Regions from separate parts of the Homo sapiens genome. Here all the other regions are linked to region 1. Evidence: promoter capture Hi-C in 16 types of primary human blood cells and fetal thymus (Javierre and others, 2016). All regions are on one chromosome and are shown on one strand. The core of a region is centred on a gene start or on the middle of the fragment in contact, and the rest is flanking DNA. Distances in the headings are between cores, read along the strand shown. Region 1 holds the start of OGDH (oxoglutarate dehydrogenase). Region 2 holds the start of NACAD (NAC alpha domain containing). Region 3 overlaps CCM2 (CCM2 scaffold protein). Region 4 holds the start of YKT6 (YKT6 vesicular SNARE protein). Region 5 holds the start of SNHG15 (small nucleolar RNA host gene 15). Region 6 overlaps MYO1G (myosin IG). Region 7 has its middle 41 kb from the start of MYO1G.

Region 1 (4,305 bases), core at 485-2,984:
TAATGGCTCACTGCAGCTTGGACCTCCCTGGCTCATGCCATCCTCCCGCCTCAGCCTCCTGAGTAGTTGCGACTACAAGTATATGTGGTATATGCCACCATATCCGGATAATTTTATTTTTTGTAGACGCCGGGTATCACTTTGGTTGCTCAGGCTGGTCTCCTTGAACTGAGCTCAAGGGATCTTCCTTTCACACTCCCAAAGTGTGGGGATTACAAACGTGAGCCACCACGACTGGCCGAAATTGTGCACGTCAAATGGGTGAATCGTATGGTATGTGAATTTTATCTCAATAAAGATGTTATTTAAAGGGAAAAAGTAACTGAAATGTGAAAAGTGCGCTTAAAAAAAATAATGAGGGGCCGGGCGCAGTGGCTCACGCCTGTAATCCCAGCACTTTGGGGGCCGAGGCGGGCGGATCACCTGAGGTCAGGAGTTCGAGAATAGCCTGGCCAAGGTGGTGAAAACCCGTCTCTACTAAAAATACAAAAATTAGCCGGGCGTGATGGCGCGTGCCTGTAATATCAGCTACTTGGGAGGCTGAGGCAGGAGAATCACTTGAACCCAGGAAGGCAGAGGTTGCAGTGAGCCGAGATCGCGCCACAGCACTCCAGCCTGGGCGACAGAGACTCCATCTCAAACAAGACAACAACAACAAAAAATGAGCATACAGTGATCTTTATTCAACTTCCCAAGATCCAGTCCTCAGCTAATTTACAAAACTACAATAGTGTTACATACTCTCCTAGGTCTACACGGCAAAGTACAGTTTGACTGTTGCAACTAGTGCTGCCTTACAAAAAAAGGCTTTATCCCATGCCACCCATCCTAAACCCAGCTGTTCAGAGCAGTGTACCTGGAAATCAGCCTCAAAGTACGGACTGCAAGACAAGGCACAAGGAAACCCTAACACGAAGTCCTATGTTCTGGGCAAAGGGATGGGGATGGCAGGTGGGACGCACCCAGGTCAGGGCGAGGGCGCGGCAAGTTTTCTATTAAATCTCAGTAGATTACAACTCATATCCAATGTCTGATATATTTTCGAGGGAAAATGGTGCTTGAAAGATGTTTCTACGAGAAATAAGCTTCATCTCGGTCAATCTGTTCGACCCAACTTCTGGCAGCAGGTGTGGGGGCGGCGCCAAGGTCTGCGCGGTAATCCAAACAGGCAGTCCCACCCAGGGCCACCCCAAAGCCAGATGCTCCGACGCAACTCGAGCAGGCCACACTGTCTTTCGGACAAAGCGACGCGGTCCTCACAGGCGGGAAGGAGAGTGCGTCCCGGTCGGGAAGGACGCCGTCGGAGAGCGGCCTAACCACGTGACGCCCGCGGCGACCTTGGGGGTCACCCCTGCGGACGCACCGCCCTCTCCCTCACATCCGCCGCCGCGCCCGCCCCCCGCTCGCCCACCGCCAATGGCGCGTCGCTCCGCGCCCCGCGCGACCTCGGAGCCCGCCCGTACCCGCCAATCTCCGCCCGCCGGGCAGGCCCCGCGGCTCCATTGGCTGCCACGGCCATCCATCAGGTCCCGTCCCTCCTACCACCCTCCGTGAGCCCCACTCCATCCAGCTCCACTCCCCTGTCACCGCGGCGCCCGCAGCACCAAGGGCGCGGCGGCCTCCCCCTTTACCGCGATCTCCAACCCCGGGCCGCCAAGCGCCGCGACACCCGGCACTGGGACGGGCGCGGCGACAGCGCACGGTTACCTGTCTCCGGCTCAGCTCCACCCGAATGAGGCGCCGACACCCCACTCCGGGGCTCCAAACTCTCGGCCCCGCCCCGGCGTATGGCGTCAACACGTAGCCCTCCCCTGGAGAAGAATGCCCTCCCCTCTTACAGAGGACCGATTCGTGACGTCACAGAGCCGCGCCGGGCGTCACAGCGCCGACTGCGCAGTTGCAGAAGCCAGGGCCAGCTGGAGCCCAGCTGTTTGCTCCGCTAGAGAGATGAGGTTGTCTATGGACTTCCAGCGGCTTCTGCTATCATAAATAATTTCTGAAAGTAAGATATCTCTAGCGCCTGGTAGGAACCTATCAAGAGATAGTTGGGTTGATGTGAAACTTAGCGCACAAAAATAAACAATTTGAATAACAGAATCTCCGTTTTTGAGATTGTCCTGGGTCAGGCTTTGTGACAAGCGCTTCACCGGCGCTATTGTGTAACAATCTGTGAGACAGGTGTTCCTATCCCCGGTCTACAAATGACAGTTGGCAGTGCTGGGATCTTGCCCGGGATCTTGCCTGGGTTTTCTTGACTTTAGAGCTACCTATCAAAGATAAAACGTGGCTAATTAACCTGTCACAACCTGTTGATTGTAAGATGTTCCCTATTTTAAAGTATTAAAATTTGGGGAAAGGCCGGGCGCGGTGGCTCACGCCTGTAATCCCAGTACTTTGGGAGGCCGAAGCGGGCGGATCACTTGAGGTCAGGAGTTCGAGACCAGCTTGACCAACATGGGGAAACCCCGTCTCTACTAAAAATACAAAAATTAGCTGGGCGTGGTGGCGATCCCAGCTACTCGGGAGGCTGAGGCAGGAGAGTCGCTAGAACCCGGGAGACGGAGGTTGCGGTGTGCCGAGATCGTGCCATTGCACTCCAGCCTGGGCAACAAGAGCGAAAATCCGTCTCAAAAAACAAACAAAAAAAGGGGGCGTATAAGTGCTTATTATAGAACAAAGTTAGGGTAATGTATGTGACAAGGATCTAGAGACTGGAAGAGGTGAAGAGACCAAGGAACAAACTTCTGTATTCTTTTTTCCTTTTTTTTTTTTAAATAAATTACGGTAAAAATGTATGTACTAAACATTTGCAGCTGGGTGCAGTGGCTCACGCTTGTAATCCCAGCACTTCGGGAGGTGGAGGCGGGAGGATCGCTTGAGCTCAGGAGTTCCAGATCAGCCTGGGGAACAGAGCAAGATCTCATTTCTACTAAAAAATCAAGAAAATTAGCCAGGTGTAGTGGCACTCACCTGTAGTCTCAGCTAATTGGGAGGCTGAGGCAGGAGGATCTCTTGAGCCTGAGAGATTGAGGCTGCAGTGAGCTATGATTGTACCACTGCACTCCAGCCTGGGCCAGAGAGCAAGATACTGTCTTTTTTTTTTTAATGCCATTTTAACCATTTTTAGGTGTATAACTCAGTGGCATTAATTACATTCACAATATTATGCAACCGTCACCACTCAATTTCCAAAACTTTTTCATCACCTGAAACAGCAACTCTGTAACCATTAAGCAATAACTTCCTATTTCCCCTTCTCCTCCTGTCCTTCTCTCCTTTGGTAACCTCTATTATACGGTCTCTATACATTTGATTACTCAATTACTTTATGTGGGTGAAATCATAATGTATATGTCCTTTTGTGTCCACCTTATTTCATTGAGCATGAGGTTGTCAAGGTTTATCTGTGTTGTAGCATGGGTCAGAACTTCATTTCTTTTTTTTTTTTTTGAGACAGGATCTCCCTCGGTTTCAGGCTGGAGGGCAGTGGTGCCATCTCAGCTCACTGCAATCTCTGCCACCCAGGTTCAAGTGATTCTGATGCCTCAGCCTCCCAAGTAGCTGGGACTACTGGCACGCTCCACCATGCCTGGCTAATATTTTTTTCTTTTTCTTTCTTTCTTTTTTTATTTTTGAGATGGTGTTTCGTTCTTGTTGCCCAGGCTGGAGTGCAGTGGTGTCATCTCGGCTCACTGCAACCTCTGCCTTGTAGATTCAAGCAATTCTCCTGCCTCAGCCTCTCAAGTAGCTGGGATTATAAGCGCCCGCCACTACGCCCAGCTTATTTTGTATTTTTAGTAGCGATGGGGTTTCACCATGTTGGCCAGGCTGGTCTTGAACTCTTGACCTCAAGTGATCCACCCACCTCGACCTCCCAAAGTGCTGGGATTACAGGCATGAGCCCCCATGCCTGGCCAGAACTTCATTTCTTTTTATGGCTGAATAATATTCCATTGTATGTATATACCACATTTTGTTTATTTATTCATCTATTGATGGACACTTGGTTATTTCTGCTTTTTTGCTGTTTTGAATAATGTTGCAATGAACATTGGCTTATAAATGTTTGAGCCCATTGTGGTACCAAGCAGTGGGCTCACTGCTAGATGCACATAGAAGCCAATACTATGTCATCACCTTTTGAGAAAAGGCTTTATCGTAAGGTCGACCAGCAGGGAAACCAGAGGCAATACTCAAATTTGTCTCCCCAAGATGGAATCTGGGGGCAGGTTTTATAGGCAGAAGGCAACTATGAGGGAGATGGGAAAATACAACAAGGTGTGATCTGTTTGGGTCATGCAAAGG
Region 2 (4,305 bases), core at 585-3,084, 480 kb before region 1:
TTGCTGAAAGTGTTTTTTTTTAAATCATGAATGATGTTGGTTATGTCAAACACATTTTCTGTGTCAACTGATACCAAAATTTTTCTTCTTTAGCCTGTTGGTGTTCTGGAGTATTGTTGATTGATTTTCAACTGTCAAACCAGCCTTGCATACGTGGAATAAATTCCACTTGGTCATGGTGTATTTTTTTTATACATCATTATATTTGATTTGCCAATATTGAGAATTTTTGTGCCTGAATTCATGAGAGATGCTGGTCTGCAGTTTTCGTTTTGGGGGTCTTGGGGTGTATTGACACTTTGTTAGTTTTTTTTTTTTTTTTTTTTTTTTTGAGACGGAGTCTCGCTCTGTCGCCCAGGCTGGAGTGCAGTGGTGCGATCTCGGCTCACTGCAACCTCCGCTTCCCGGGTTAACGCCATTCTCCTGCCTCAGCCTCCTGAGTAGCTGGGACTACAGGAGCCCGCTACCACTCCCGGCTCATTTTCTGTATTTTTAGTAGAGACGGGGTTTCACCACGTTAGCCAGAATGGCCTCGATCTCCTGACCTCGTGATCCGCCAGCCTCGGCCTCCCAAAGTGCTGGGATTACAGGCGTGAGCCTCCGCGCCTGGCGACACATTGTTAGTTTTGACATCAGGATATTTCTTGCCTTATAAAATGAGTTAGGAAGTGTCCCCTTCTCTTTTGTTTTCTGGAAGAGATTGTTTGAAGTTGATGTTAATTCTAATGGTGTGGTGTGTCTGACTCCTGGGGTACAGCGGGGAGAGATGCCCAGCAGGCAGCCAGGTGTGTAGCACTGAGCCTTGAGGCAGGTCTGGGGGAGTCAGAGGGCAGCCCCTGGCTTCATGAGCTCAAAGTTAGAACCCACAGAAGACTGAGGATGTTGAAACCTCCCTCCCTGCCTGTGACAATGGCTACTCTGATTCCCCCCACCCCAGTCAGGGGTGATGACAATGTCTCATTCATCTGTCTCCCTGGTGCCTGGCACGGGGGAGGAGGGGTGCTCAGTGAATCTGGGTGGCGCAGTAGCCTGTGTGAAAGCAAGAGGCATTTCAGGAAATTCACGGGGCGGGCTTCCTCCTGGGAGGTGTGGCAGAGGGTGCTGCCAGGAATAGAGGGAAACACTTTCTTCCTTTTCCTTCTACTGCCTAGTGTGGGGGTGGAGGGGAGATGATAGGACAGATCACCGAGTTGCCTAGAGACCTGGAGACCGACCCATCCGGGTCGCCTTCCCTGGTGCGCTCTCGTCGGCTCCATCCCTGGTTGCCATGGAGACAGGAGGCGGTTGCCACGGAGACCGACGACTGCCAGGACCAGCCAATCACTCCAGAGCTGCAGCTCCAGCTCACCTTTTGCATGGAGGCATCGGGCTGGGCGGGGCCCCCTCCCTCCCCAGGCCCTGCACCCTCTGCTTGGTCAGCGGGGAAGGAGGCTGCGCCGCCAACTCCACCCAAAGCGCTCCGAGCATCCCAGAATCCCAACCACCTCCCCAGCCTCCCACAACCAGGGTTCTAGGGGCGTCCCCGCCTCTTCCTGGCCACGGGCGAATGCCACCCTGAGGCAACCCAGCTTCCAATTGGCCCTGAAACCCTCCCTCGTAAATGCTGTGGAAAGGGTGGGACCGGGCGCAGGCGCCCACCCCCGCTCCCCCACGAAACCGCCCACAGCGAGAGGGAGGCCACAGCCGGGTGGGGTGGGGGCGGGGAGGGAGCCCCCCCTACGCCCTCCGCAGTGCCTGGCGAGCCCGCGCACGCTCACTCGCTGGGACAGGCGGGCGGGGCGGCCTGACGTCACCCACTGCCCCCACCGCCCGGCCGAGGGGCGGTGGCCGCGCAGGCTCGGCGGGGCGGCGGCACGGACTGACGGAGGGTCGGAAGGACTGAGGGACGGGCGGGCGCACGGCCAGGCCATGCCTGGGGAGGCTGCCCGCGCCGAGCTGCTGCTGCCCGAGGCGGACCGACCCGGGCCCCGCACAGGTGAGGCCGTGGCCACTCTTTCCCTGCCTTCAGCCTCTCCCCTCTCCAGCCCGGGTTCTCTTTCCATCGCTCACCTTTCACCCCTCTCCCCCATCCCCCTGGCCCCCCTCGAGTCCCCTCCCCTTTCCGCGCCCTGTCCTTCCCTCCATCTGAACCCTGCTACCGCCTCTCTCAGAACTGCGGGGAAGGTGGGGCGCACGAAGTGCCCGCCGCGAGCCAGAAAGAACGTGGGGGCTTAAGCCCTTGGCTTCCGACCCAGGGATCGTGGGGCTCGCATCCCGCCCGCTGCATCCCGTTGTTTGCACCGAGCTGCCAGCCTGCTGGGGCTGGGCCGCTCTGGACAGAGGCAGCGGGTTCTGGAGGCGGGGTGTCCGGCTGATACCCCCAGTACGATCAGGTGACCACCGGGAGGGTCCTCAGTTGCACCCGGTCTGTCCTGGGCCGGCGACTGGTCATGGCTCTGGAGGGAGGAGCAGGACTGGCCAGAGCCTAGGAAGCCCGGATGGAGGGCCAGGTGGTGGAATAAAGCCTAAGTTGGGTCTGGAAGGTGGAAGGCCTTGGGGGAGGTGGCCTGATTAGCAATGGCCCTGGGTGTGCAGACCACCTGTCCTTAGGCTGGGTCAACAAATGCTGGTGGAGGCTGATGGGGTCTACGGGGCCTAGAAAGAGCCGAGCCTGGACAGTCCTGGCGTGGAGGTCAGCCATGTGTGGGTAGGGCCAAGGGCACCTTGCTGTGGGCAAGAAGTCACCCAGAGATGGGACCACTGCTGGGGCCTGGGGCCTGGTTTGGGGTGACACAGGCTGCTGCCTCTGCTCTAGGTGGGAGGCAGGGAGTGCAGGCCCAGACTTCCCAGCCCCAGGGTCTTGTGCTGGCTCTGTTCTGGCTTGCTTGGTGACCTTGAATGAGTTATAAAAACCTTTGGCCTTTGGTTTCTGCTCCATCCCAACAGCTCAGCCGTTCCCCTGCCCTGGGGGCCACACCAGGGGCCAGAACCAAGAGCCCAGCTTCAGGGCACCCAGTGATGCCCCACCAGCCACGCCCACTCCTGATGTTGGGTGTCAGGCATGCAAGAACCCAAAGGACCCCCTTGTCTCAGGACCCCCTGGATGTCCCATCACCCCAGCAGCAAAGCCCTTGGGTGACAAGTTTTGGCTGGTGGTTCAGGGCTCAGGGCTCTGATGCTGCTGAGGGGAGCTGGAGCAGCCTGGCAACAGGGTCCCCCTTCTTTCAGCTTCAACTCTAATCCTGGCTCTGCTTTGTAGATGAGAAAGCTGAGGTGCAAGAGATGTTGTCCTGGTCACCAGTGAGTGCGGGAGAGCAGGAGCCACCAGGCAGGCATCTGCAGCCTGGAGAGCTGGCCCCTGTGTGCCGCCGCTCCCCCACCTTGGGCAAGACCTGGCCTGGGCTCTGAAGGGCCTTCATTGGATGCTTCAAACAGAGGTGCCTTTGGCCTAGGTCCAAGTGAGGGAGTGGACATAATGGAGACATTTAAAATGAAGCTTATGAGCATTTAGAGCACACAGGAAAATGCTTATGAGATTAGGTTGGGTGAAAATAGCTAGATTCAAAACTGAATGTGCAATGTGATCTCGCCTGTGATAAAATACAGGCCAGTAAGAGTCCAGGAGGCAGAAAACCATAGCGGTCTGGTGTGCCGCAACCTCGGAGGGGTTTTCTTCCATCTTCCTGAGTCCCCTAAGTCCTTTCTGACCCATGAGGGCTACTTCCTATGGACTCCTTTCTCAGCTGGAGGTGTGTTAGCTCACAGACGTTTACTGAGTACCAGAGCCTCCTCATACTGAAGCCTGCCCAGCGGGTTGGGGGAGTGCATCATGGGACCCAGAGAAGGCCCACAGGGCAGGGTGGGAACTCCCAGCACCCGGGAAGGAACTGGTGGTCACCCATGGGGTGGCTGCCACCAAGGAGAGGACTCAGCCAGAGGCTGCTGTTGGCCCTCTGAAGCTGTCCTGTGCTCTTGCTGGGCTCCATGGTCTCCGTTCCTGCCCACCACTGCCCTTGTGGCCAGATGCTCCAGCAAAGCCTCCACGGGACACTTCATCTCTGTTCTCCAGAAACTTGGCTGCGTGTGGTGGCCCCTGGCTTCCCCATCTCCCTGGGTGCAGGAGGGGAGCAGGGTCAGAGGGGCCTGGTGAAACCCTGACATGTTGGCCTCAAGTGTAGGTAGCAAGGACAGCAGAGAGAGGAGGCAGAGCGAGGCATGAAGCCCAGAGTGTTCGAGCTGCGCGCGTCGTGCTGGTGCCACCTGCCTCATGTGGCGCATCTATTGGGAGGTCATGGGATGGGACTGGCACTGCCTGGCAGATTCCCA
Region 3 (4,305 bases), core at 546-3,045, 430 kb before region 1:
CTAAATGATAACTAGCTGTGTCATGGACAGTGACTGAGCTCTGAATCTGACAGTGTGGGCAAGCAGCCTGGCTCCATTTGTTGGCTCTTCTGAAAGCTGCCTGTTAGCCAAACTAGTTACTAATCTACCTATGGGAGCAACAGGAAACCAACTCTGAGACAGGAGATTTGCCAAGATCAACCTCTAACCAAGAAGCCCACACCAAATCAACAGGTCCCACAAACCACATGCAACCTACACTGTTATTTTAATGTTGATGTACAGGTCATAAAATTATAGTCTCCACACAGAATTACAGTCTGCACTGGGAAGGACTCTGGCGCTCCCCCGTCCTACAATCCCACCCCTAAAGAGAGACCCTCTGCAGTTAGGCAGTGAGAAATAGTAGGAACTCTTGCAGGGCAAGGAAACCAGGACGGCCATCTGTAGATGCCTCTTATTGCCCAAGCATCACATCAATTCTTCCCTACATCGAGCTCAGCTCTTTCCTCCTCTGGCCTTTGCTCTTTTTTTTTTTTTTTTTTTTTTTTTTTGAGACGGAGTTTTGCTCTTGTCACCAAGGCTGGATGGAGTGCAATGGCATAATCTTGGTTCACTTAACTTCTGCCTCCCCGGTTCAAGCAATTCTCCTGCCTCAGCCTCTGGAGTAGCTGGGATTACAGGCACCCACCACCATGCCTGGCTAATTTTAGTATTTTTAGTAGAGATGGGGTTTCAACATGTTGGCCAGGCTGGTCTCAAACTCCCAGCCTCAGGTGATCCACCAGCCTCAGCCTCCCAAAGTGCTGGAATTACAGGCATGAGCCATTAGGCCTGGCTGCCCTTGGCTCTTACCCAGCAGCCAGCATGGAGCTTGCACAGACTGGACAGCAATAAACGCTGGTACTGACTCTTGATGGAACGCTTGGACCAGGCTAGGCATCTGGGGAGGCCCTTTGGTTAGAGGTGACACAGCCCCTGCCCTCAACGATGTCACAGTCAAGCCGAAGTAGTAAGACCAGAGTAAAGTAACTGAAATTAAATCCACAGTAAAAACAGTCAATCAATGCTGAAGACACACAGGATGCTCCAAAGGTACACTTAGGGCTCAGCCACCCTGTTCTTAAAGCTGCTGTTCTGAGCAGCAAGAGACAAGGAGAGGAATGAACAGGAGATACAACCTTCTGACTGCTCACAGACTAGCAGAGGAGGGCGACCCCGGAACGCCAAAGATAGGGCATGCCAAGGCGCTTCAGAGGAACCTGCCCCTTCTACCTGGGCCTCCAAATCACGAACATTTTAACAAGCAGATTCTGTGGACTACTTGGAGGCAGGCGTCTCTCTGGCCCTAGTCCTTAGTCTTCAATAGCAGCTACCCTAAGTTTCTTTTTTTAATGTCTCAAATAATTTTAATTGATGGGTAAGCCTTCCTAGAAAGTGGAATATTAACACTATTAAGTAAAGAAATGCATCTTTGCACATCTGCTGCAGCCTCCCTCTGCCACTCCTACCCATTCAGCACGGAATGCAGGGTAGCTGCTGTTCTCGCTGAGGATGATGGGGCTTTTCAGAGGTAATGTTTGCTCAGCTCTCAGCTGCAGGGGGTGGTAGGAGGGACAGCCGGTGCTGGGGAAGAGCTCTCTGCTATTCCAGATACAAAACTGAACAAGAAGCCACCTCAGATTTTTGGAAAAGAAGTTGCTTTTGAACACAAAATTTAAGCTGATGGCTGGGCGCAGTGGCTCACACCTGTAATCCCAACACTTTGGGAGGCCAAGATGGGAGGATCACTAGAGTCAGGACTTCAAGACCAGCCTGGGCAACAGGGTGAGACCTCATCTTTTAAAAAAAATACAAAAATTAGAACATAAAAATTAGCAGGACATGGTGGCACACACCTGTAGTCACAGCTACTTGGGAGGCTGAAGTGGGAGGATCACTTGAGCCTAGGAAGTCAAGGCTGCAGTGAGCTGTGATCACACCACTGCACTCCAGCCTGGGTGACAGAGCAAGACCATCTCAAAACAAATAATAATTATTAATTAAAAAGAAAAAAGCTGAGCGTGGTGGCATACGTCTGTAGTCCTAGCTACCTGAAAGACTGGGGGGAGAGAATCACTTGAACCCAGGAGCTCAAAGCTGCAGTGGGCTATGACTGCCCGCTGCACTCCAGCCTAAGTGACTAAGCAAGGCCCTCTTTTTTTTTTTTTTTTTTTTGACCTGGAGTCTCACTATACAGCCCAGGCTGGAGTACAGTGGTGTGATCTCGGCTCACTGCAACCTCCACCTCCCGGGCTCAAGCGATTCTCCTGCCTCAGCCTCCCGAGTATCTGGGATTACAGGTGTGCACCACCACACCTGGCTAATTTTTGTATTTTTATAGAGATGGGGTTTCACCATGTTGGCCAGGCTGGTCTCAAACTCCTGACCTCAAGTGATCTACCCACCTCGGCCTCCCAAAGTGCTGGGATTACAGGTGTAAGCCACTGCACCTGGGCAAGGCCCTGTTCTCTTTAAATCTAAAAAAAGAAAGAAAATAAATTTAAAGGAAAGTTCTAGTTAAAAAATAAATCGAGGCCAGGTGCAATGACTCACGCCTGTAATCACACCACTTTGGGAGGCTAAGGCAGGTGGATCACCTGAGGTCAGATGTTCAAGACCACCCTGGCCAACATGGTGAAACCCCGTCTCTACTAAAAATACAAAAATTAGCCGGGCATGGTGGTGCACACCTGTAGTCCCAGCTACTCGGGAGGCTGAGGCAGGAGAATTGCTTGAACCTGGGAGGTAGCAGTTGCAGTAAGCCAAGATCACGCCACTGCACTCCAGCCTGGGTGACAGAGTGAGACTCCGTCTCAAGAAAAAAATAAATAAAATAAATTGAGGGCAGGCACAGTGGCTCACACCTGTAATTCCAACACTTTGGGAGGCCAAAGCAAGAGGATCGCTTGAGGCCAGGAGTTCAAGACCAGCCTGGACAACATAGCGAGACCTGTCTCTAAAAAATATTAAAAATTAGCCTGTAGTTCCAGGCACTCAGGAGGCTGAGGTGGGAGGATCACTTGAGCTTGGGAGGTTGAGGCTGCAGTGAGTTGTGATCACACCACTGCACCCAGCCTAGGAAACAGAGTGAGACCCTGTCTGGAAGGAACGAGGGAAATAATTAAATGGTTTAGCATATTTTTAATGTACAGAATCAGGATTCCAGTAAACCATCATGGGTTCTTTAACTCACTAGAATGTACTATAGATGGACACATAGAATTTAAAAGGTGGGATTAGCCCAGGCAACCATTCTTCATTCAACATGTATTTGATTGAGTATGCCTGTTCATCACCACTAAATGATCTTGTCACCTTTGAACCTCAGAGACCAAAGGACCAATTCAGTCCCCAGAAGGAAACCAGGCTAAGTGCTATTTCTCTTCCATGAGTGGAGTCCCAGCACCAAAGTGAGGTGTGGAGTCTATCCCAGCCTAAGTCTCTCCTGAAGAAACTGAGGCTGTGAGGGTCGAAGGGACCTGCCAGAGTCCACAGTACGGAGCCAGGAGGAGGGAACACAGGGCTCTGAGTCACCATGCAGCGCTGTGCAAAGACATCCATATGGAATATATGCCACCTCAGATAACTATACAGAACTTTCTAAACTCACTCTGGAAGATGCCTAGATCCTTACAAATTCTTACAAAGTTAACGTCTTAAGCTTAAAACAACTCTTAAAGTTGGAAACCTAAAATGTACTTCTGAGTTAAAAAACTAAAACTAAATCTGGCCTACTAGGGCTTACCTAGTGAGAATGCCCTCCTCACACAAAGCCAAGGCTCAGGCTCTGGGCAAGGCTGGCCCTCAGATGCCAACTGCGGGTCTTGAGTTTTGTTAAATCTGAAGCTCAACATTATCAGCTCACTTGGGTGAACAGGATCTGGAGTAACTGGATCTGCTCAACAAATTCTCAGAAACTAACTTATAAGTCAGGGCACCTGTTTATTAATTTACAAGGAGAAATGAATCCACTAAAAGAACCAGCAAAAGCAGACTCATGAAACAGTGGCCTCTACTTGGGGACCAAAGTAAATAGTATGGCTATACCTTCTAGCTGCATTCTCCATGCAAAACATTGAGCTCAGTATTACTCTGGAGAAAGTGCTAAAAAGTCTATGAAGGAAGAAAGAGAAGAACACTTAGTCACACTGAGCAGTACCCAGCATGTCTCTGCTACAGGGTTCAGGCATTTTCATTTGCGCAAATTATTTAACCCTTATGAATAAACTACAAGGTGGGTTTTATCTAATAAAACAAAACCGCCTCTGAACAAAGATGTTTAAA
Region 4 (4,305 bases), core at 619-3,118, 410 kb after region 1:
CTATCAATCTATTTCATATCAATGCACTCACTACACGCTTAAAGATAGTGAAGATAAATTTTGTGTACCATTTTACCACAATTAAAAATATTTTTTTAAAAGAACTCAAAGAAGCAGAAAGTTTCAACAAAATAACATTTTTTTTTTTTTACATCCAGCAAGTCCTTGGCAAAGAACTCTCATCAAGAACCAGCTGCACTGAAGCAGGGAAAACAGAATCCAAACGGCAGATTCCATCAGATTTTGAGACAAGATGACCATAGATACCGACCATGTAGGGTCCTCCTTCTTTCGTGCCTGAGTCACCCCAATCCCTCCCACGAATGGTCTGGAAGTGTCTGTGTTACTTCTAACACGTTCCAGCAATTAAAGCGCCCCAGAAACAAGTAAAAGCCTGTAAGCCCTACAGATCCCATGCTTCATTTGCATCTTCCGTGTGGAATCCTTTTGTACCACTAGTGTCCAACTAAAAAGCGTTAAACCTGGCTTTCAGTTCTAGCTGGTTGTGATATAACCTCTTGGTACCTCAGTGACTTCACCCATTAAAAACAAACAAAAAAAAGTATATCACTATCTCTCATACAGAATTGTTGGGAAGCCCCGCAAGAAAATCAAAATATGGCTCTCAAGATGCGGCACCCAAGCTCCCAGAGTCAGAATCACTGGGTGGGAAGTGTTGGTCTAAAATATAAATACCGAGGCCTCAATCTACTAATTCAGAACATCTTGGCATGAAGCTTGGAAATCTGCACTACTTCACAGTCTCCTTAAAATTTTTACACGACAGAAATTTGAAAAACACTGAGTAGAGAACTATATTCTAGAATGGTATAAGCTCTTAAAGAGCTAATGTTGGTTCCTCAAAGGTAGAGTCCACGGCCAGATTCCATTATAGGAGACCAAGCCCGGACAGCAGACCCCGGGCCCTCCCCACCCCGCCCCGCCTCTGACTCGGACACCAGCCTTCTCAGACCCCGGGCACTCGGCCACCCCGCCCTGCCCCTACCCTTGGCCTCCTCCACCCTCCCCTCATCCCTCCGCCGACCCCAGGCCCACTCCGACTCGGACCCCCACCCCAGTCCTCTCCGCCCGACCGCCACGGCCCACCAGCCTGTGCCGCTCACCTGGATCTCTGGAAAAAGCTGAAGGAAGACACATCGTATGCGGCTTTGAGCAGCACCACCTTGGCCTCGCCTTTGTAGAGGACGCTGAGGCTGTACAGCTTCATGGCTCCGCGCCCTCAGGCCGCCCGCCTGCCCAGCTGCGGGACCCGTTCTCAGGGAGCAGCGCGGCCGCCGCCCCTCGGGACCGCCGCCGCCTACCGGCCTCTCAGCAGCCGGCTGCTGACGGGGCCACCGCCGGCTTCCTCCTCCTGGCTCGCAATCCACTTCCGGATCCGGTCAGCCTGGTTGAGGGTTCTCATACTCCGGATGCAGAAATGTGAGCCCGGAAGTACAATGCAGCGAGGGGCGGGATGCCACGCCTCGCGTAAGCTTGGCCCCTCCCTGCTCGCCAGGTGGAGTCGGGCGCGCGGCGGGATACCGTACTGTCTTGTGCTGGGTGGTGCTGGGCCTCCCACAGCGGCCTGAACCCTTCTTTTTTTTTTTTTTCTTTTCTTTCTTTTTTTAAAGTAAGCATTTTTTTTATTATTATACTTTAAGTTTTAGGGTACATGTGCACAACGTGCAGGTTTGTTACATATGTATACATGTGCCATGTTGGTGTGCTGCACCCATTAACTCGTCATTTAGCATTAAGTATATCTCCTAATGCTATCCCTCCCCCCTCCCCCCACCCCACAACAGTCCCCGGTGTGTGATGTTCGCCTTCCTGTGTCCATGTGTTCTTATTGTTCAATTCCCACCTATGAGTGAGAACATGCGGTGTTTGGTTTTTTGTCCTTGCAATAGTTTGCTGAGAATGATGGTTTCCAGCTTCATCCATGTCCCTACAAAGGACATGAACTCATCATTTTTTATGGCTGCATAGTATTCCATGGTGTATATGTGCCACATTTTAGGAGGAGCTTGTACCATTCCTTCTGAAACTATTCCAATCAAAAGAAAAAGAGAGAATCCTCCCTAACTCATTTTATGAGGCCAGCATCATCCTGATACCAAAGGGTGGCAGAGAGAGACACAACAAAAAAAGAATTTTAGACCAATATCCTTGATGAACATTGAAGCAAAAATCCTCAGTAAAATACTGGCAAACCGAATCCAGCAACACATCAAAAAGCTTATCCACCATGATCAAGTGGGCTTCATCCCTGGGATGCAAGGCTGGTTCAACATACGAAAATCAGTAAACGTAATCCAGCATATAAACAGAACCAAAGACAAAAACCACATGATTATCTCAATAGATGCAGAAAAGGCCTTTGACAAAATTCAACAACCCTCATGCTAAAAACTCTCAATAAATTAGGTATTGATGGGACGTATCTCAAAATAATAAGAGCTATCTATGACAAACCCACAGCCAATATCATACTGAATGGACAAAAACTGGAAGCATTCCCTTTGAAAACTGGCACAAGACTGGGATGCCCTCTCTCACCACTCCTTTTCAACATAGTGTTGGAAGTTCTGGCCAGGGCAATCAGGTAGGAGAAGGAAATAAAGGGTATTCAATTAAGAAAAGAGGAAGTCAAATTGTCCCTGTTTGCAGATGACATGATTGTATATCTAGAAAACCCCATCGTCTCAGCCCAAAATCTCCTTAAGCTGATAAGCAACTTCAGCAAAGTCTCAGGATACAAAATCAATGTGCAAAAATCACAAGCAGTCTTATACACCAATAACAGACAGAGAGCCAAATCATGAGTGAACTCCCATTCACAATTGCTTCAAAGAGAATAAAATACCTAGGAATCCAACTTACAAGGGATGTGAAGGACCTCTTCAAGGAGAACTACAAACGACTGCTCAATGAAATAAAAGAGGATACAAACAAATGGAAGAACATTCCATGCTCATGGGTAGGAAGAATCAGTATCGTGAAAATGGCCATACTGCCCAAGGTAATTTATAGATTCAATGCCATCCCTATCAAGCTACCAATGACTTTCTTCACAGAATTGGAAAAAACTAAAGTTCATATGGAACCAAAAAAGAGCCCGCATTGCCAAGTCAATCCTAAGCCAAAAGAACAAAGCTGGAGGCATCACACTACCTGACTTCTAACTATACTACAAGGCTACAGTAACCAAAACAGCATGCTACTGGTACCAAAACAGAGATATAGAGCAATGGAACAGAACAGAGCCCTCAGAAATAATGCCGCATATCTACAAGCATCTGATCTTTGACAAACCTGACAAAAACAAGCAATGGGGAAAGGATTCCCTATTTAATAAATGGTGCTGGGAAAACTGGCTAGCCATATGTAGAAAGCTGAAACTGGATCCCTTCCTTACACCTTATACAAAAATTAATTCAAGATGGATTAAAGACTTACATGTTAGACCTAAAACCATAAAAACCCTAGAAGAAAACCTAGGCAATACCATTCAGGACATAGGCATGGGCAAGGACTTCATGTCTAAAACACCAAAAGCAATGGCAACAAAAGCCAAAATTGACAAATGGGATCTAATTAAACTAAAGAGCTTCTGCACAGCAAAAGAAACTACCATCAGAGTGAACAGGCAACCTACAGAATGGGAGAAAATTTTTGCAACCTACTCATCTGACAAAGGGCTAATATCCAGAATCTACAATGAACTCAAACAAATTTACAAGAAAAAAACAAACAACCCCATCAACAAATGGGCGAAGGATATGAACAGACACTTCTCAAAAGAAGACATTTATGTAGCCAAAAAACACATGAAAAAATGCTCATCATCACTGGCCATCAGAGAAATGCAAATCAAAACCACAATGAGATACCATCTCACACCAGTTAGAATGGTGATCATTAAAAAGTCAGGAAACAACAGGTGCTGGAGAGGATGTGGAGAAATAGGAACACTTTTACACTGTTCGTGGGACTGTAAACTAGTTCAACCATTGTGGAAGTCAGTGTGGCGATTCCTCAGGGATCTAGAACTGGAAATACCATTTGACCCAGCCATCCCATTACTAGGTATATACCCAAAGGATTATAAATCATGCTGCTATAAGGACACATGCACACGTATGTTTATTGTGGCACTGTTCACAATAGCAAAGACTTGGAACCAACCCAAATGAACCCTTCTTTTTGCTTGCGTTGTTGAAAGAAGGCAAGTCTATGGATAGGAATGAGTGAGGCACAGCTCCCTGAGGATGCCATATCTTGCCCGTTTCTTGTGTATTAAGT
Region 5 (4,305 bases), core at 866-3,365, 380 kb before region 1:
TGGGGAGACTCATTTGAGTAATAAAAAAAGTCCCAGTTTCCCACACAGCTGGCTCTGCATGAATTATTCTTTCTCTATTGCAATTCACCTGTCTTGATAAATTGGTTCTGCCTAGGCAGCAGGCAAGGTGAACCTGTTGGGCCATTACAATCTCATAGCAGTGGCAGAATGGACAGACCAGTGAACCCTGTGCTAGGACAACCTGCACCAGGCCCTGGCTGTTGTAGGAGGTCCTTTTTTTTTTTTTTTTTTTTGAGATGGAGTTTCACTCTTGTTGTCCAGGCTAGAGTGCAATGGCGCGATCTCGGCTCACCGCAACCTCCGCCCCCTGGGTTCAAGCAATTCTCCTGCCTCAGCCTCCCAAGTAGCTGGGATTACAGGCAGGCACCACCACGCCCGGCTCATTTTGTATTTTTAGTAGAGACCGGGTTTCTCCATGTCAGTCAGGCTAGCCCCAAATTCCTGACCTCAGGTGATCCACCCGCCTCCCCGCCTCGGCCTCCCAAAGTGCTGGGATGACAGGCATAAGCCACCGCGCCCAGCCTGTTGTAGGAGGTCTTGAACAAACCACTTAACTTGTTTGGGTGGGGCTTAGTTTCCACGTTAGTAATCTGGAAGTAACAGTTCTGCCTTATCTGTCTGTTAGGGTTTTGACACTTAGTGAAGTATGGGATTTGTATACTGTAAAGTGATTGAATGTATTTACTAGGTGCAATACATAAAATACGAGTTTCAAGCACTGCTCTGCTTTTACTTATAGAACCACGTTCTCACTTTTCTAGCCTGATCATTCAAGACCCTTGAACACATCGTCCTTATCTCCCGCTCCTCATTGAGACCCTTCCAGAACACTACAAACTTGTAATACTTAGCTGTATCACCAGCAAACCATGTCCTTCCCAATTTCAGGACCTTTCAATGTGCTTTCCTCTGCCTGGGGGTGGGTGGGGGGTGGAGAGTAGTTTCCTCCCAACCCATGAAACCTCTCCACAAAGGTAGAAGAGACAGAAAACCATTACTGAATAAGTATTAAACCAGATTGTGATGCCGTACATCACATGCAACCTGCTAAAGGCAACACAAAGACAGAAACTCACTTTTTCTATGCAGCTAAGTAGAGATAGCCCATCACATTATGTAGGTTTTGCAATTTGGAGTCAGGTGCCAAGTTAAGCCTTTGTCCTCCTAAGAAGCTGGACTCTTGGCCCTTTCGTCCCTTAACAATTGCATTTTTTTCTTTCTTTGTTTTTGAGACAGAGTCTCGCTCTGTCTCCAGGCTGGAGTGCAGTGGTGCTATGTCGGCTCACTGCAACCTCCGCCTCCCGGGTTCAAGCGATTCTCCTGCCTCAGCCTCCCGAGTAGCTGGTACTACAGGCACGCTTCACCATGCCCAGCTAATTTTTGTATTTTTAGTAGGGACAGAGTTTCACCATGTTGGCCAGGATGGTCTCGATCTCTTGATCTTGTGATCCGCCCGCCTCAGCCTCCCAAAGTGCTGGGATTGCAGGCGTGAGCCACCGCACCCAGCCAACAATTACACTTCAAGGAGATGGCTCCCAAGAAACATTCCTGAGTTGAACCTGGCCATATAAGAAAAAGACTTGAGTACATTTGGAAAGGAGAGAGGCTGAAATTTTGAAAGAAAAAGGGAGGGGGATGGTTTCTCGTCCCTTCTTTTCCTCAGGGAAAATTAAACCCTATGTATAATTTGTATTTGCCCTTCCACCTGCATCACCTTTCCCACATGCTCCCACAGGCAGGCTCCTGTTCATTCCCAAGGCTCCGTGTCCACATCGTGCTTGGATTCCGCCCGGCCCCGCCTGTGCGGCCGCACCAGGAAGGCACCACCCATTAGGGGCTCAGCGCGTCCCTCCAGGCCACGCCGTCAGGCCTCCGTCCTTTTAGCTGTAGGGGCAGATTACGTAACTCCAGCCTTCTGGTCACTAAAGGAGGGTAACAAAGGGCGGTCGAGAGACTCCACTGAGTTGACACGCAGACGCAGCCTCAGGACCCTAAACTCTACGCCCCAGCACACCCTACCAAGCGAGCGCCCGCGGCCGCGTGACGTCATCTACCCCAAACGCTGTGGCCCCGGCCACGCACGGCTTCGGGGCGGGACTACGCGGTGACGTCGAGGTGCGCGGCGCAGCGCGCGGCGTCAGTCTTGGCTGGCAGACCTGTACTCCGTACTCCGTACTTCGTAGTCGCAGCGGCGCGGTCTTCGGCAGTCTAGTCATCCACCGCCATCCTGGGCCCCACGTGTTGCCTGACCATTCCTGAGCCCAGGTAGGGGTCCTGGGGGATTGGGTTCAGTGGCGGGCGGCGTGGGAGGCTGGGCCGCAGTGAGTGGGGGCACCAGTGATTCTTGGAGACCAAGCCTTCACTACACGTGCTACTTCCTCTCAAGAGGCGGTTGAGCGCGTTCGGAACATTTTACCCGGAGGAGACTCGGGGATTACTTGATGAGTAACCTCGTGCTTCTCTTTCAGCCGAGAAGTGGGGCTTCTGCATGACCTGGGTGGACCCCAGTAGGTGGGATGGGACGTGTGGTCAGGAGGGACCTCACCGGAAGGCATGGGGTGGCGTGTAGACCTGCCGCAAGAGAGGCTGTAGAGTGGGCCAGGCGTTGCAAGGAGCTAGAGCTGGATAATGGTTCAGAGGCACAAGCTGAAGCTAACTGCGTTTGGAGCTAACTGCATTTGTTCCCTTCTAGGTGGGAGCCGTGGCTGAGGTGACGGTCTCAAAGTGGAAGAGCTTACTGTCACAGCAACTCCTTTGCAAGATGCCCCGGTAAATCACGTTGCAGAGACCCCAACTCTGCCTTCCTGGAACTAGGCCTGCGTTTTCTCTGAACCATTATTTCATGGGGAAAATGAAATCTACTTCATGTGCCTGGTCTACTTACTCCTTCAGAAGTGATTTCTGAGCCGTAAGATACATGAGAAAAAAATGAAGGGGAAAAGGCAGTATTTATATTAACTACATGATGATAAGGATGTTTCTGGTCACAGTGAAAAGCCATGCTAGAATTGTAGTGTCATAGAATAATGTGGAAGTTTAGTTCGTGTTGTCTGATCTATTTAATAATTTAATAAGGTTATCTCTTCCAAGACACCTTCCCTTCTTCCTCAGCCAGAAAGGATCTTTCCCTGAGAGTCATTAGTAGCTCTGGGCTCCTGGAACCAAGCTCAGGTGCCTAATTGAACTCTGGTCTCTTCCCACAGCCCCCAGCAGGGACTGGTGCTTAGTGAGAGTGGACTGCCAGATTCCTTGAGTGTGGGGGATTTGGGTGAATGAGGGTAGCAAGCCTCCAGCGTGCTTGGGTCTGCGGTGACCCTATGCATTCCTTCAGTGCTTGCTAGAACAGTTTTGAAACGGTTTGAGGCCTTGCCCTGCTCCATCCAGAGCAAGGTTATAGAAATTTCAGACAATGACTTCCTCCCTCCTGGATCTAGTGTCCTGGGCCTTGTATAGATCCGTGCCATCTAATGTGGTAGCCACTTGGCACACATGATTAAATTAAATTTGGAGTTTTATTTCATTTTCACACTAGCCACATTTCAGATGATCAGTAGCCACAGGTGGCCAGTGGCTACCATATTGGACCGCACAGATTAGAGGGCATTTCTGTCGCTGTGGAAGTTGTTTTGGACAATGCTGGTGTGAAAGGTGAAGGGAATCCTGAGTGTTTGCTGTGCTCCAGGCTCAGTACAAATTTTATTTTATTATACACTTAAAGCAAAAGTCTTATAAAAGTTGAGGATGAAGCCAAGAGTGGTGGTAAGGGTAGGAGTTGAAACAGTGAAGAGGAATAACAGGGAAGAGTCCTGCCCTGAGAGACTCATGGAATAGGATATTTACAAGGCAAAGCAAAGAGAACCAAAGTCTCAGTTCTGCAGAGGAGCTGAGTGCCCCAGGAGCTAGTGGAGGGTGAGGTCAATGTGTGCTCATCTTAAAGGAAAAACTCATGGAAGAGGAAGGTGCTAATGTTGAACACCTATTTTGCGCCAGACCTCTTAATTGTTTTAAATCTTTGAGGTATCATCATGAGGTCGTTTTTAAGTTCAGTACAGATGAGGGGCCCAAGGTCAGAATTATGTGTCCAGGGTTGCCCAGCCACAAACCAGCAGATCAGGGTTTGATGCCAGGCCTCTCTAACCCTGCATCCTGAGTGGAATATAGAAGCCGGTGGGAAGTTTGGATGGGAAGGAGATGGATGCCTTCAAGTTCTTGTCTTGGTGTTAGGTGTGTTAAAGGACTGGCTGGGATGAGAAGAGTGTTGCTGGCTTGAGCATAGCACGAGCA
Region 6 (4,305 bases), core at 1,163-3,662, 360 kb before region 1:
CTGCCACGCCCACCTCCCCACCCCCCGACCAGGGGCTGGAACCTGGCTCTGAACCTGGCCTTGCTGGCCTCTGCCCAGCACTTAGGGCTTCCAGGGCCCTTGTTCTGCTGATTTCCCTTCTTTGTTCCCAACTCTTCTCCTGGCCTGGGACCTTGAGGGGTTAGGAAGCCCCTGGTGTGGGGCAGGGTGCACAGTGCTGCTGGCGCAGACCCTCTCCAAGTCCCCTCTGTCCCTGCAGGAGCCCTTCTACGTCCGCTGCATCAAGCCCAATGAGGACAAGGTAGCTGGGAAGCTGGATGAGAACCACTGTCGCCACCAGGTCGCATACCTGGGGCTGCTGGAGAATGTGAGGGTCCGCAGGGCTGGCTTCGCTTCCCGCCAGCCCTACTCTCGATTCCTGCTCAGGTACTGGCACCTGACACCCATCACTCCATGGGCCATAGTCCCTGTGTGGAGTCCAAGGGGTAGGAGCAGAGGGTCCCCAAACAGCACGTCGCAAACATCGATACAAGCAGGAACCAGCACGCTGCTGGCCTCAAGACACCAAAATATCTGGGAAGACATGTGTGTGAGCACATGCATGTGGGGACATACAGGTGGGAACATGGGTATGAGGGCTGTGTGAGGACATGTATGTGAGGACATGTGTATGGGAAGACATATGTGCACAGGTGTCATAAGTGCTCCAGGAACACACTCTGTATCCCTGCCATCTCCCCAGGTGTGGGGTGGGCAGGGTGGGCTCCATCATCTCTCCCCCAGGCCTGGGCCACACTGCCCTGTCCTGTGGTGACAGGTACAAGATGACCTGTGAATACACATGGCCCAACCACCTGCTGGGCTCCGACAAGGCAGCCGTGAGCGCTCTCCTGGAGCAGCACGGGCTGCAGGGGGACGTGGCCTTTGGCCACAGCAAGCTGTTCATCCGCTCACCCCGGACACTGGTCACACTGGAGCAGAGCCGAGCCCGCCTCATCCCCATCATTGTGCTGCTATTGCAGAAGGTGAGGTGGGCGGGGCAGGAAGACATCCACTATGGAGGTGGGGAAAGCTTGTGTCCCAGGGGCCACAAACACACTTGTAAGTTTCACAGGAGTCTCTGCTTGATGGAGACAGGCCAGGGAGTGCTCAATAAATGCTCAGGGCCAGGTTTGGGTCTAAGGGTTAGGGCCTGATTGAATTTGACTGCGTATCCCATCCCACCTGGCCCACCCAGGCATGGCGGGGCACCTTGGCGAGGTGGCGCTGCCGGAGGCTGAGGGCTATCTACACCATCATGCGCTGGTTCCGGAGACACAAGGTGCGGGCTCACCTGGCTGAGCTGCAGCGGCGATTCCAGGCTGCAAGGCAGCCGCCACTCTACGGGCGTGACCTTGTGTGGCCGCTGCCCCCTGCTGTGCTGCAGCCCTTCCAGGACACCTGCCACGCACTCTTCTGCAGGTACTACTCTCAGCCCACCACACATTCCATTCAGCTGGCATCCACTGAATACCTTAACCCATCATCCCGGGCCTGCAGTGCCTGGATGGGAGATACACCAGCCCCCTTGATAGGTGGGAAGGTGGATGCTATGCCACATTAGCTGACTGCTCATGTCCCACAGTTGGTGCAGAGCCCTGACCATCTTGGGTACTGTGGTGGGCATTCAAGGTCCAGGGCTGCAGCCTGCAGGGGGAGGCCCATTAGGGCTGGGAAGTAAGGGGATTCTGCATCTGAGCGGGGTCTTGAGGGCTGAGTAGGAGTTCTCCAGAAGGAGGGGCACAGAGCATGCTCAGAACAGGAGGACACTGGGCGACTGCTGGTCCCTGGGTCACCTTCCAGGAACAAGCGTTAGGCACAAGGGGCCAAGGCCAGAGAGGCCGGCAGAGGTTGGGACATGAAAGGCAGGCAGCACCAGGCTGAGGGCTCAGCTTCCTCTGTGGAGAGGGGGCTCAGGGAGCACATGAACACATGGCCAGCATCTGTCTGACTACATGCCCTCTCCCAGGTGGCGGGCCCGGCAGCTGGTGAAGAACATCCCCCCTTCAGACATGCCCCAGATCAAGGCCAAGGTGGCCGCCATGGGGGCCCTGCAAGGGCTTCGTCAGGACTGGGGCTGCCGACGGGCCTGGGCCCGAGACTACCTGTCCTCTGTAAGTGCCAGGCGAGTCCAGGGCTGCCAGGGGGAAGTGGGCTGCCAAAGAGGGCTCTCGGCTAATGCTGTGACCAGGTCCCCTCAGATGTCCTCTCCCAGGCCTGGGGTTGTCTGTCCTGGTGGCCCTGTACCTCAGCCCCCACCAGAGCTCTGCAAGGTCTCATCCTGGGCTTCAGGAGCAGTGGCCTTCGGGGGTGGGTGTGGATGACAGGAGGGCCAGGCTCAGATGCAGCCTAGAAGTCAACACAAGAGGGCTCTGTGCCCTCAGGAAATCCAGGGCTGCTCAGCTCACGCACAAGTCTGTGTGACTCAGTTTCCCGAGATGAAGGATAGCTATGCTGATTCACAGACAGCTGCTATCAATTGAGTCTGGTCCCATGACTCAATCCCAAGCAGCGCCCCCTCCCCTCCATCTGTCCTCAGGCCACTGACAATCCCACAGCATCAAGCCTGTTTGCTCAGCGACTAAAGACACTTCAGGACAAAGATGGCTTCGGGGCTGTGCTCTTTTCAAGCCATGTCCGCAAGGTTAGACAAGGGACAAGGATGGCTTCAGGGCTGTGCTCTTTTTCTAGCCACGTCTGCAAGGTTAGAAGCTGGTGCAGAGTTTTGGGGGGGCACTTGGGAGAAAATGGAGGCAACCCCAGCCCAGGCCCAGCTGCTCCTGACACTCCCAAAACTGTCGCCAGCGGGGAGGGGAGGCAGTAGGGACTGCCGAAGCCTGGGGCCCTGGTGGGTGACAGGGCAGCACCAGCCTGGGTCCAGCCACCTCTCCCACAGGTGAACCGCTTCCACAAGATCCGGAACCGGGCCCTCCTGCTCACAGACCAGCACCTCTACAAGCTGGACCCTGACCGGCAGTACCGGGTGATGCGGGCCGTGCCCCTTGAGGCGGTGAGCAATGTGGGTGGGGAGTAGGGTGCAGCATCTGTGAGGGGCACTGCTGGGCTGCTCAGAGTCCTGCCTCAGTCTTCTCTCCCCTGTTTACCTGAGATGGCCCAGACCATCCTAAAACTCAGCGATGGTGGCACCCGTGCTGAAAATCCTGCAGTGGCTTCCCACGCCCACAGAGTGAAAGGTCCCATCCTGTGATCCCCACCAGCCCAGTCACCCCCCACCCCCACTCTCACACTCTAGCCAAGCCAAATGGTCCCCTCTTCCAACTTGTGCCCAACTGGGGTTCTCCCACCTGGGCATTCTGGGACCTGAGTACCCACCACAATGTTCTGGGCCTCCTGTGGGATACCGTCCCGGCCACTCCGGAACCTTCTGCCGAGCTCTGTGGCCTACTTGCTCCCTTCATTAGCAGCTGCTGTTCCCATAAATTCTCTTTCCCACAAGACGGGGGTAGGGATCAAGGCCAGGCTACCTCTGGGTCTCCCACAGTTTCAGGGGTCCCATGACTGTCCCAATAGAAAGGGCGGTGAGTGCCTTGCTGTGTAATGCCACAGCCCAAAGCCGGCGTGGTTGTTTAAATGCAGTGAAAGTGACCTAGAACTAAAAACGGCTCCTCCAGGCAGTAGCACATGCAAGGGCTTAGCATCCACAGGTGAGCAGTGGCGGCCCTGTTGGACAGCAAGGATCTAGAACCATCAGTCCTGGAGAAAATCGTATTGTGCAGCGTCCCGCCCAAGCTTCCCCCTGTCAGCAGGGCCCCGAGAGGGAGGAGGGGGCGGTGGGGGGCTGGTGGCCCTGGCGAGGGCGGCGCTCCCCGGGTGCGGTTGGGGGTTCGGCAGAGGCTTCCTGGGGAGGGGGTGAGTCCGGCTAGGCTGGGGTGCGGGTTGAGGCGGCTGCACTCTGACCCCGCGCTCCGCTCAGGTGACGGGGCTGAGCGTGACCAGCGGAGGAGACCAGCTGGTGGTGCTGCACGCCCGCGGCCAGGACGACCTCGTGGTGTGCCTGCACCGCTCCCGGCCGCCATTGGACAACCGCGTTGGGGAGCTGGTGGGCGTGCTGGCCGCACACTGCCAGGGGTGAGTGCAGGCTGGGCGGTAGCGGGCACGAAGCCCCGGCCGCGTGGCCGCCCTGACCCCTCCTCCTGCCGCAGGGAGGGCCGCACCCTGGAGGTTCGCGTCTCCGACTGCATCCCACTAAGCCATCGCGGGGTCCGGCGCCTCATCTCCGTGGAGCCCAGGCCGGAGCAGCCAGAGCCCGATTTCCGCTGCGCTCGC
Region 7 (4,305 bases), core at 489-2,988, 330 kb before region 1:
TTTTATAGATTAACCTGGTATCCTACAACCTTGCTATAATTGTTTATTAGCTTCAGGAGGTTTTGTTTTTGTTTTTGTTATTCACTACATAGACAATCATGCCATCTTTAAAAAGTTTTATCTCTTTTTTAGTTTTTATTATTTATTTATTTTGAGATGGAGTCTTGCTCTGTTGCCCAGGCTGGAGTGCAGTGGCACAATCTCAGCTCACTACAACCTCCACCTGCCAGGTTTAGGCGATCCTCCCACCTCAGCCTCTGGAGTAGCTGAGATTACAGGCGCCCGCCACCACGCCTGGCTCATTTTTGTGTTTTTAATAGAGATGGGGTTTCACCATGTTGGCCAGGCTGGTCTTGAACTCCTCACCTCAGGTGATCTGCTCACCTTGGCCTCCCAAATTGCTGGGATTACAGGCGTGAGCCATTGCACCCGGCCTTATTTCTTTTTTAAAAAGTCATCCTGGCTGGGCACGGTGGCTCATGCCTGTAATTCCCAGGACTTTGAGAGGCTGAGGTGGATGGATCACGAGATCAGGAGTTCAAGACCAGCCTGGCCAACATAGTGAAACCCCATCTCTACTAAAAATACAAAAAAAAATTAGCAGGGCATGGTGGTGGGCACCTGTGGTCCCAGCTACTTGGGAGACTTAGGCAGGAGAATCGCTTGAATCCGCGAGCCAGAGGTTGTGGTGAGCTGGGATCACACCACTGCACTCCAGCCTGGGTGACACAGCAAGACGCTCAAAAAAAAAAAGTCACCCTGTATACCTTTTGTTTTCTTTCCTTATCTTATTGCATTAGCCAGGTTGCCCAGTACAATGTTGAAAAAGAGTGGTGAGAGGGAACATCCTTGCTTTGTTCCTGATCTTAGTGGGAAAGCTTCAAGTTCCTCATCATTAAATATGGACAATACTCATTTCTATTTCTGCCATCCATTGGGTCTACAGATATCATTAAGTTTAAAACGTGACACAAACCACAGCTTGTGTTGATTAATTCCCCTGAACATTACACATTTCTTATATACTAGATTCTTTCCAACAAATGCATTGTATTTTTAAATTTTGTGTCTTCAAAAGGTCAAATTGATCTTTCTATTTCTTTTGTCACATGAATGTACATGCACAAATATATACGTGCAACATGTATATATGATCATATAGACATATATAGCAACATAGATACAGATGTTACATACATATAACCAGTTTAGCTGAAGAGCTCTAGCTCATCGGCCCCTAATGCAGAGTTTCTGGCAAGTAACTAAGTATGTCTATTCCTGACATCTATGAACAATTTGGGAAATTACCGAAGGTGGGTTTGCAGAACACTGGGCCCACTACAGCACCACCTTCCTCAACCTCCACCTGCTCCTCTCTGATTTGTGGTCCACAGAGGTTTCTCTGGGTCTTTGCTCATTCCCCTTTCCCCAGAGCACAGCTGTCTTGCAAGCACCTCTGGAAACACCTAGGAGAGAGAGTCACAGCCCATTTCTGTGGACATGCCCCAGGGTCACCTTTCTTCAATGGGTCCCACTTTGTGACGTGGCTCAGATTCAGGAGTGGAGAAAGAAGTCTCCAGTTTCCATTTTAGTAACTCAGAGCAGGGTAAGAGGTTTTGTTTTTACAGTGTAGATAAGACCCTGGTAGGCTGCCCAACTCACTCAGTCCTAGGATTGATACCATAATTATTTTAGTCATTGTTCTAATGGCTTCTAATAATGCTTTTATTGGTACAATACCTGCTAAGAAATTTATAGCAGATGGTATCATTAGGTAATGGGAACACACATATCTATAAGTCATGGCCATTGCTTTTTGGTCATTTTCACTAATCCAGACAATTAAGAAAATCCACTTTTATACTTATTCAGAGGTCCCCACTTCTGCTCCCACTGCCGTTCAGCTCAGACTTGTGTCTTGGAGAAGAGTTAATGTGCATGTGTCTGTGAGGGGTGATATGCCATCTCATCCCCTCTATCTTTTTTCCAATGTCTTACCCCCTCAGGGTCTCTCATCCACCTGGGGCCCAGCAATGTTGTGGCTGAAGAGGGGATGATTCTGGTTCCTGCCCAGTTGTGCCCCATCTGTCACTGACGCTGTTAGAGGGTGGGAGATGCAGCAGTCTCAGCTGGCAGGGGGCTTGCTATGTGACCATGCACAGTTTTATTTGGGGGGCTGACCTCTCTCATGTGGAGGACGCCCTTCACCAGAATAGAGCAGCCACGGCCCATGGGCCCCTTGAGACGTGTGTGCCTCCACCTCTTTTCTGTTTGGGGAGCCCTTTGCTCAGCCTGGAGGCCCTCCATGGGGCAGCAGGTCCTCTGCTCCACTGGCTACACCCTATGCTCCATCATTTTAGGCCAGAGAAACACCAGGGCCTCTCCTGTGCCCAGTGAGAAATGCAAGACTCAAATCGGAGTAAGTCCTTGTCTCTAGGGAACAGTACTTCCCATTCTCTTTGCACTCTGCCTCGATTCTTACCCTGCTCCTGCCTTCAGAAGTCTCCAGATGATCAATGCCTGTAAGTCTCACCCTCCTGACTTCATGGGACAGGTGTGCAGGGGAGGGCTGGGAGAAGGGCATTATTCTCAAGCTTCTAGAAAGTCTTTTCTTTGACTCTACTCTCACAGGAGCCTTCTTATAGAATGTAGTTACAAATCTCAAATCGATTTTGGAATTTCTAAAATATGGAGACAGCCTGGAGTATTGACATGGCATTCATGAATGTGCTGGGGAGACTGCCAAGCACCAGCCCAGAGAAAACAGCCTTCAGAATTTCAACTTATTTTGTCACATGTAATTTTATAACACAACCACAAAGTTTCCTTGGCTATTCAAAGAATCAATTCAGTAATTTTTTTTTACATTTATTTATTTTTCTATTTGCAAGACAGTTGTCTGTTAAGAGATGACGCTCACAAAACTTTTAAACTATGATAGATTTCAGTAAAATCACTGAATACTAAAATATAATAAAACATTAGGGCCAGGCACAGTGTCTTACGCCTGTAATCCCAGCTACTCAGGAGGCTGAGGCAGAAGAATCACTTGAACCCAGGAGGCAGAGTTTGCAGTGAGCTGAGATTGCACCATTGCACTCCAGCCTGGGGAACAAGAGCGAGTCCTCATCTCAAAAAAAAAAATTAGACTACAAAAAGCAATCAAACTCGATGCTCCCAGATAGCCTGCTCTCTGACAGTGAGTGAAGGAGCCCAGAATGTCTCCTCTAAGCTGCAGACCCCACAGTTTACTCTTTCCAAGCAATGAGCTTATTGGAGCTTATTTGAAATAAAAGGCTGCTGCATGTTCCTGTGGTCACCCACAATTCTCAGAATGACTGCCAGGTCATGGTGCAGCCATGACAGTGCTGTGACCCTGACTCTGTTCTGTGAGGTTGCATGAGGGACACCAGGTCAGTCACAGGCTGCCAGACCCAAGAACAGGGGACGAGCGGTCCTGGGCCGTCTCTCTACAAGGGCTGCTGTGCCAGTGTCAAACCTGAGAATTCCTAAAGCTTCAAAGAGGGCTACGAAGCACAGATGCCAGCCCCAGGACTTACAAGAAAGTATAACCTCTTTTCTAAAACGGTTCCCCCCAAATAAACAGGGAAGAAGCCAATCCAACAAAAGCATCCATTCTAAAGACTCACCTTGGGAGAACGATATCATGGGAGTAAAAGCAGTTATCGCCATTCCTTAACTCACGCCCCTGTTTCTACACACATCACGTTTGAGATCACAGTCATTGATAATTGTCATCTTATCAATAAAAGCATAACACAATTAACAACTATTTCATGTAACAGTTACTGGCTTGACACTAGGCCCAGGTGTAGACAGAGAGATATCTATTTGCATGTACCTGTGATCACCTCCATCAGAGATAGTTCACTGTCATGGACAGCAGCCTTCTTGGTGTCATGAATTTCTTGGCGAATTGGCTGAGTTCAAATGTGGATCTTATGTTTCCCTCTCTCTGTGCCCTGCCAGAACTCTGTGGGAGGGGTCTGTGGTCAGTATCCTCTTTGCTTCCTTCCTTCCCTGCCCCTTAGGGAGTTGATGGCAGGCTTTCTTGCTCAATCAGGCCACTGCCATCACCCAGTTTAGCTCACCACCTGCAGACTCAGAGGGGACAGTGGAGGCTGCAATGTTGCTGCAACCAAAGGACCTGCGCCAAGGATACCCCCACAGCGGTAGTGGGATCCCCACTTACTGGAGCATCTCCCGTGAAGGCACACAGACCCAAGCATCAACCATCCTCAGCACCAGCCCAGGGTGGGTGAGCACTGGTGGGTCCATCTTCCT

What was found. Contacts are between HindIII fragments. The CHiCAGO score rates a contact against its expected background, and 5 or more counts as called.
Region 2: a contact is called between the fragment with the promoter of NACAD here and the fragment with the promoter of OGDH in region 1, in 12 of 17 cell types (naive B cells, activated CD4 T cells, total CD4 T cells and 9 more). The highest score is 9.3, in naive B cells.
Region 3: a contact is called between a fragment that was not itself captured here and the fragment with the promoter of OGDH in region 1, in 1 of 17 cell types (naive CD4 T cells). The highest score is 5.7, in naive CD4 T cells.
Region 4: a contact is called between a fragment that was not itself captured here and the fragment with the promoter of OGDH in region 1, in 1 of 17 cell types (fetal thymus). The highest score is 6.2, in fetal thymus.
Region 5: the fragment with the promoter of SNHG15 here is called in contact with the fragment with the promoter of OGDH in region 1 in 4 of 17 cell types (total B cells, fetal thymus, neutrophils and 1 more); the score reaches 9.7 in total B cells.
Region 6: a contact is called between a fragment that was not itself captured here and the fragment with the promoter of OGDH in region 1, in 2 of 17 cell types (monocytes and fetal thymus). The highest score is 5.6, in monocytes.
Region 7: a contact is called between a fragment that was not itself captured here and the fragment with the promoter of OGDH in region 1, in 2 of 17 cell types (activated CD4 T cells and erythroblasts). The highest score is 6.3, in activated CD4 T cells.

Annotation. Positions count from the first base shown.
Region 1 is chr7:44,604,056-44,608,360 of GRCh38, reverse strand. OGDH (oxoglutarate dehydrogenase) reads right to left here and starts at 1,734. Exons shown (of 23, transcript NM_002541.4): 1 at 1,708-1,734. RefSeq lists enhancers at 745-1,084, 760-1,323, 1,575-2,174 and a silencer at 1,305-1,534. The HindIII fragment of the contact is 8,395 bases long and covers 1,088-4,305 here.
Region 2 is chr7:45,086,498-45,090,802 of GRCh38, reverse strand. NACAD (NAC alpha domain containing) reads left to right here and starts at 1,834. Exons shown (of 8, transcript NM_001146334.2): 1 at 1,834-1,975. The coding sequence starts at 1,909. The HindIII fragment of the contact is 4,426 bases long and covers 1-3,477 here.
Region 3 is chr7:45,029,273-45,033,577 of GRCh38, reverse strand. The region is part of intron 1 of CCM2 (CCM2 scaffold protein); the gene reads right to left. Among named protein-coding and RNA genes, the nearest start is that of CCM2, 31 kb to the right of the region's middle. The HindIII fragment of the contact is 3,779 bases long and covers 1-3,684 here.
Region 4 is chr7:44,198,059-44,202,363 of GRCh38, reverse strand. It overlaps YKT6 (YKT6 vesicular SNARE protein), which reads right to left and starts at 1,386. Exons shown (of 7, transcript NM_006555.4): 1 at 1,125-1,386. The coding sequence starts at 1,228. RefSeq lists a silencer at 1,210-1,279. The HindIII fragment of the contact is 745 bases long and covers 1,496-2,240 here.
Region 5 is chr7:44,984,506-44,988,810 of GRCh38, reverse strand. It overlaps SNHG15 (small nucleolar RNA host gene 15), which reads left to right and starts at 2,115. Exons shown (of 3, transcript NR_152597.1): 1 at 2,115-2,286. SNORA9 (small nucleolar RNA, H/ACA box 9) reads left to right here and starts at 3,301; the gene lies at 3,301-3,433. RefSeq lists enhancers at 1,522-2,269, 2,305-2,424, 2,270-3,016 and a silencer at 3,543-3,723. The HindIII fragment of the contact is 12,531 bases long and covers 1-4,305 here.
Region 6 is chr7:44,962,772-44,967,076 of GRCh38, reverse strand. MYO1G (myosin IG) reads left to right here. Exons shown (of 22, transcript NM_033054.3): 15 at 239-405; 16 at 797-1,004; 17 at 1,217-1,440; 18 at 1,988-2,132; 19 at 2,558-2,662; 20 at 2,915-3,028; 21 at 3,953-4,107; 22 at 4,182-4,305. Among named protein-coding and RNA genes, the nearest start is that of MYO1G, 14 kb to the left of the region's middle. RefSeq lists an enhancer at 920-1,019. The HindIII fragment of the contact is 2,717 bases long and covers 1,054-3,770 here.
Region 7 is chr7:44,935,557-44,939,861 of GRCh38, reverse strand. No RefSeq gene overlaps it. Among named protein-coding and RNA genes, the nearest start is that of MYO1G, 41 kb to the left of the region's middle. The HindIII fragment of the contact is 1,716 bases long and covers 881-2,596 here.